2 separate regions of the Homo sapiens genome follow, and region 1 is linked to region 2. Evidence: promoter capture Hi-C in 16 types of primary human blood cells and fetal thymus (Javierre and others, 2016). All regions are on one chromosome and are shown on one strand. The core of a region is centred on a gene start or on the middle of the fragment in contact, and the rest is flanking DNA. Distances in the headings are between cores, read along the strand shown. Region 1 overlaps NR5A2 (nuclear receptor subfamily 5 group A member 2). Region 2 holds the start of C1orf53 (chromosome 1 open reading frame 53).

Evidence for each region. Contacts are between HindIII fragments. The CHiCAGO score rates a contact against its expected background, and 5 or more counts as called.
Region 1: a contact is called between a fragment that was not itself captured here and the fragment with the promoter of C1orf53 in region 2, in 1 of 17 cell types (total B cells). The highest score is 12.9, in total B cells.

What each region holds. Positions count from the first base shown.
Region 1 is chr1:200,034,529-200,037,424 of GRCh38, forward strand. All of the region lies in intron 1 of NR5A2 (nuclear receptor subfamily 5 group A member 2), which reads left to right. Among named protein-coding and RNA genes, the nearest start is that of NR5A2, 8.3 kb to the left of the region's middle. RefSeq lists an enhancer at 1,397-2,297. The HindIII fragment of the contact is 2,325 bases long and covers 330-2,654 here.
Region 2 is chr1:197,900,743-197,904,090 of GRCh38, forward strand. It overlaps C1orf53 (chromosome 1 open reading frame 53), which reads left to right and starts at 1,888. Exons shown (of 3, transcript NM_001024594.3): 1 at 1,888-2,171. The coding sequence starts at 1,908. RefSeq lists silencers at 1,773-1,922, 2,093-2,342. The HindIII fragment of the contact is 7,446 bases long and covers 1-3,348 here.

The DNA of each region.
Region 1 (2,896 bases), core at 242-2,741, 2.1 Mb after region 2:
ATTCCGATATCCAGGCCAAACTCTCCAAAAAGCCCTCCTTTCCTCTGGGGCAAGGGTGGGAGGTTGCCCGGGGGGGTGGGTGGGGGGTAGGTTGGATTACCCAGATAATTGCTTCGGCTTTCGTTTTCCTCCGCGATAAAAACCGCGCCACGCCAGATCGAGATACTCTCATAGTGATTGTGAATCAATCGCCATCCTGCTCTAGGGGCTGATGTTGATGTCTTAAGTAGTTATTCACACGTGCAGCAGAAAGGCTTTTTTTTTTTTTTTTTTTTTTTTTTTTTTTAAACAAGGCACGACTGCTCACCTATTCAGGTTTGCTTTTTTAAAGCTTCGATCAACACGACGCTCCCTGGTAATTCCTATGGCTGTACTGAAATTTAACCCGTCTGTTTCTAATACAAAGCGCTCGGGATGAGGGCGGGTGGAGCCTACGGGCGTGGGCGGGTAGCCCAGCCCTCTGAGCCAGGGAATGAAACTGGAGTTCTGGCTAAACTTTTCAGAGAAAGGCAAAAGCAGCTTCTGATGGGTTTTTCGGCTGGGAGGGGCGGAAAAATTAGGCAGACCCGGAGCTCCCGTAGGCTGAAAAACTTGCTCCTCTTCCCCCTCGGGCTATCCTGGCCTAGTAATGGAGATCTGAAAAAAATCTAGACTTCTTTCGGGGTCTAAAAGGTAGATATGTGGGACGAAAAAAGTAATTGTCCTGGTTTCTTAAAAAGCACCAAAAAGTGGGAATGGAAGAGAAGACGGGAGAAATTGTTTCGAAGGAGGAAGGTATTGCAAGTTTTGTGCAAGTTTGGGTGGGTCATCTACCCAGGCGCGCGGGGAAAGATGTGTCTGCCACACCTTTTGCGAGCCCAGGAAACTTGAACCGCTCCTGAAAATCCTGATATTTTTTCCCGCTGCAGCCCGCACGGGTCAAGCGCGCGGGGGCTGACCAACACTTTCCAGGTCAGGTCGAGTTGATTGCTCCCAGCTCACGCTCCGAAATGCGGTGCTGAACCACGGGAAGGAGGGGGTGGGGAGGAAGGCAGGCAGTTGCATCCTCGCGAGTGGGGAGTGCGAGGCCTCCTCAGCTCCAGCCAGCTGGGTGAATGGGGCGCGCACGGCCCCGTAACGCCGAGCGTGGATAAAATATGCTAGGACTGCGCTTCTCCGGCTCATCAAGGCTGCGGGAGCCTCCCCGAGCCATCATCCTTCGTAATTGCAACCGTCAATCAACACTTTAAGACAAAGTCAGAACCGGGAAGGGCGAGCCCTGGAGACCTGTCTCGTCGGAAAGAAGGAGGTGGAGGGGAGGTGGGGGAAAAGGAGAGAAGTTTGCCAGAAGTTGGCAGAGGGAGTGCAAAGAAATTGAGAACGCGCAAGGTAGTTGAGCAGAGCTGTCCCCCGGTCTCACCACAGACTCCCAGGCCTCCCGGGTTCTAGTCTCTGGTCTCCGCCACCAGTTACAATTCCCGCAGCGGTAAGTACGGGGTGGGTTCCTAAGTGTGCTTACACTAAGAGGTACAGTGGCAGTTGCTAAGATGTCCCCGGCGGAGGATGAGATGCGTCTGTCCACCCGCGGTAGGTGTATTTATGGGTCAGTGCAGACCACCGCTGGCGCCGGCGTTTAGACCACACAGACCCGGTTCCACCTACTTACATCTCAACTGCTTTCCCTTCCCGCAGCCACTTGGCTGTCTTCATATTGTGGCCTCGGGAACCCAGAACCATTCTCAAATAACCCATCTTAGACACCGCAAACTCGGGTTCCTCCTCCCACAGCTTCCTTTCGGAGAGGGCTTTCTGGGGGACGCCCAGACCCGTCCAAGGTCACTGAGCTAGCGGGTCCCCGGCTTCAACAGGGGTCCCTTGCCCAGCAGAATTGAAGGGTCAAAGGACCAGAGTGAGTGCTCAGAGGGAGGAGGGAGTTCTGAGGGAGAAGAAAGGGTGCACTTGGAGGGCAGTAATGAGCTTGACGCTGGAAGCCTGGTGCCGCCGCCCCTGCCTCTGCCTCTTGGATGGAGACCCAGCTGCTTCCTTAAATCCCTTGCAGAGCTACCTGAGGAAGGTTTGTGTGCCCTCGGGTCTCTGGCAAGAATCAATTCCAGTGGAAGATTCCTTGCCTTGTCCACTGCTGGCGGGGATCTTGACATCCTTCCAGGGGATCTGAAATAGGGCTGCCCCCAGGGAGCGTTTCCCATCGTCGAGTTAAAGGCCTGGAGCGCCGAGGGCTTAGGCTTCTGAGCTAGGAGTTCCCTTGGTTCTTAGGAAAGGTCGTTTTCTCTCGCTCGAGACTTTCTGCTCTTTCAGTCCCCCTCCATTTCGCTGCTACGCTTAGGTTTTGGCCTGGACTAGACTTTCAAAGCAAAGGAAAGGGCTTCCCTCCGTGATACAAGCTCCTGCGTTAATTTTTTAAAGCATGGATTTTTAAAACCCAGTCCCCAGCCACCGTTCCCTCCCGCACCCCTCCCATTTTGTGAGGATTTTTCTTTCCTGGAAAGTCCACCTGTGGAGAGATAAATGAGTGCCAGCTGGCCTTTTGCCACCACCACTCTCCATCTTTCGGGGATGTGGTGGGAGGGTAGACTGGCATGGACCAAGAAGTCGCTAGTGTGGCCTAAGCAAGTCCCTTCTGGCCCTGGCAGCTGGCGTTATGAGCATGGTCACAAAGCTTGTCTCACTAGGTCAGCCTCAGCCTCAGGTTCAGCCTCAAGCCAAGGCAGGGTTTCTTGATACACTACAATTTCAAGGTCCTGTCAGACCCTCTTTCAACTTCTTTCAACTCTCCTAACTTCCCCCGGCTTCACCAAGCAGAGGTGAAATCACCACCACACACTAGGGGTTGGAGGTTTCCTCTTAGGACCAAGCGTTTGGAGTCCTGCATCCTTGCCATGCTAGGGTCTGGGAAAGG
Region 2 (3,348 bases), core at 638-3,137:
AAGTTAGCCAAGCATGTTGGCACACACCTGTAGTTCCAGCTACTCAGGAGGCTGAGCTAGGAGGATGACGTGAAATCAGGAGTTAGAGATTGCAGTGAGCTATGACTGCACCACTGCACTCTAGCCTTGGCAACAGAGTGAGACTCTGTCTCAAAAAAAAAAATACTGTTTTTAAATTTTGAAATAATTACAGGTTCACATGCAGTTGCAGATATGGTACTGTGTTTACTTCACCCAGGTTCCCCCAATGCTTACACCTTACATGCTTACAATATGAAAACCAGGGATTTGACATTAAAACAATGTATGTATAGCTCCATGGCATCTTATCACATGTAAATTTTTGTAATCATCATAGTCAAGATACAGAATTATTCTGTTACCTACAAGATCTCTGTTGTTCAAGCCCTGTACAGTCCACTTCCACCCTCTCATCTTCACCAAAAGAAGTTTCATGTAACAATATGTACTCTTGTACATATGTATCTATATAAGATATGTATCTATATAAGATAGTTCCATTTATTTTCTATTTAAATCTGGTCTAGTCTATTTCATTCCTGTAAAATGCTGTCTCTACCCTTTGAATCGATGTCATGGCCTATTAGTGGATCCTGATCCTTAATTTTAAAGACAATGCAGTAAATCAATCTCAGGTTTTTGTTGGTGCGGGGACCTGACTTATGGTGAATGTGAATAACATCACAGTTGTTCATTTTTGGTGATCTCATGTTTGGTCCCACTCTTCCACAGCTTTCTCTAGGGTCCCTCCTTCGCTTTCCAGATTTTAAACTCTCCTCAGATTACTTAACAGTCTCCAGATCCTAATTTTTTATTCCAACAAAAAGAAAATCAATTTGCAAAATATAATACCAATTTATTAATTCACTGAGATTTTTAATGAACCAATAGGGTTGTTTCAATCACCTCCTACTAAGATTTAAGAAAATGAAAATATGACTACAGGGTTGCATGGTAAACACAGAAACCAAAAAACACGTAGTGATGGTCTATAGTGGCTTAGTCGCCTTTCTCCTGTACAACTGAATAATCTACTTTTGTCCTCAAAGATCAATTCCTGCCCTCCCAGTATTGAAGAGCACTAACAAAATTGGTACTCTTCAGCCCTCCTTTTCTTGAAACCCAGACGGGGGGTAGGAAGATGGGGTGGTGTTAATTTAATCCTAACACCTGAAATTACTTCCCGGGCTTGCCGTAATTTTCTCAAATACAATTATGTGACGGTATCAAGATCACTTTCATCCATCAGAAAGGAGATAATAGTTTTAGGTTGGATTTTGTAAATATTCAGCAACATGAACACAACACCTTTTCTTATTCAGTGTGCGATTTTACTTTTGGCCCTTATTCTAGGGTGGGCCAAAGAACCAAGCAAAGAAGGCTCCGCTTCCACCTTTATTCCTATCACATACTACCTGGAAACACTCAGCCTTTTCTGGATAGGCCCAAGGTGGTTATTCACAAACCTCGGGTCTTTTGATCACTTTCTGGGATCTTAACAGTTGTGGAGATTATACTGAATGATCCCAAGTCCAGTCTGACATAACAAAAAATGTCCACCTTTCAGCTGGGTGGGCGCGGGGGAAGAAGGAAGAGCTTAGAATTTAAGTCCAAAGATGTGGAAACACCAGGCTCTTCCCCGTCCAGGCAGCTCATCAGAGCCTCGTTAGCTGCCTTAAAAGCCCATTTTATTTCCGCAGCGGGCCCGCTGGTGAAGGCAGAAGGCTCAGTCCGTCCGCCTCCACCTGCTGCCACGGCAGCGCGAACCGACCCCACGCAGCGATGGCCACGAGCTGCCCAAGACCGGCTCGCCGCGCCCAGGCCCGCGTTGGTCGCCCCTCCGGGCCCCAGCGCCGGGTGCTCCGCCTCCCAAGGCCGGCGGCGGCATGGCGGCCAGGCAGATCTGGGCACGGACGGGTGCCGCGCTCTGCAGGCAACCTTCCGCCGCCCCGCCGCCAGCACCTCTCTGGGTAAGAGCTGGGTTCCGACAGCAGCTCAGCTTAACCCTCTGCCCTGCTAACGAGGGAAACTGCGGCGGCTCCGCGCCCAGCACGCCCGGTAGGCCGGAGAGAGCGGCGAGGCCTTCGGTGAGCGAAGAGTTAACCGCGGCGGAGCGACAGATCGCGGAGCTGCACGCTGCCGCCTGCGCGGTGAGACTCCCTCCTGCCCGCCCCGCCCCGCCGCGGCCGCCCCGGGCTCGGCGCGCCTGCGCATCCCGGGCCTCTCCGGACCCGGAGGCCGCCCGGCAGAGGCAAAGGTTGCTGGATACCGGTGCGGTCCTGCCTCGGGCGACATTCGCGCACGCACACGAACTTCCAGCCCCGACATTTTCGCGGGAAACCTGTGTCTGTCTTGAGTATGAGTGTGATTTGTTTTCCGATCAGCGTCCGAGCTAAACTCCGGTCGCAGTGTGGGACCCACTACCACTCTTTTGTGGTGTATGTGTGTGTGTGTTGCGGAAGGGGGTGTTAAGGAATTGATGGAGAAGGTGGAGGGACTGAGAAGTCACAACAAAAATGTGTTGTGTGTTTTTCTGCATTGTCAGTTGAACACTTAGCAATCCAGTGATTCTTAGAGTGAGAAAAAAAGACATTGACACATTTATTTTAATTTTTCCATTGCCTTCTTGTCCTTTCTCTTAACTCTTAACGGAGCAGAGGGAACTACAATCTGGCATTTGTAGACACTCAGCTGTTTTCTCCTGTTTTGCGGATTTGACAATTGTCTGTTAGTACCAGTATCTAAACTTCTCTCCCTTTACGCCTTCTAACACAGTCTGCGTGAGTTTAAAGGCAGCATGGTTACCTTTACAAAAGAAACAGTGAGAAAAAAAGAGAAACTGACTATAATAAAGATAGAAAAGCAGTATGAAATGAACCCATTTAATAAGCTATGTGTGTGTGCCTCCAGTACTTGATGGGACTAATATTATATGGTATGACTTGAGCCAAAGGGGTAGAGAAGAAAATCCCGGAGGTTGCCTAAAATTGACTTATTTAAATAATGACAGTTAGTAGGCCCTGAGAATCCACTGTCGGTCTGACCCATTCAAGTGCTGAAACTGAATAAAGACTCATTAGGAAGTGACTGGCAGCTTTTGATTGTTCTTGTTTATGCTCTCCTTTTAAAAATAATGTATATAATTTGTTCTCATACTTCGCAATATAGATATGGTGGATATTAAAGAAAAGTGTCATTCTCCTTAGAGCAAACACCAGTATCATGTGAAGAAATTTTCAATCAGTCTAGGGAAGGAAAGGAACTTTTTCTCACTCGGGAAATTCACATTTGTTTCATCAGTGTCAGTATCACAGGTTAAATGACTAT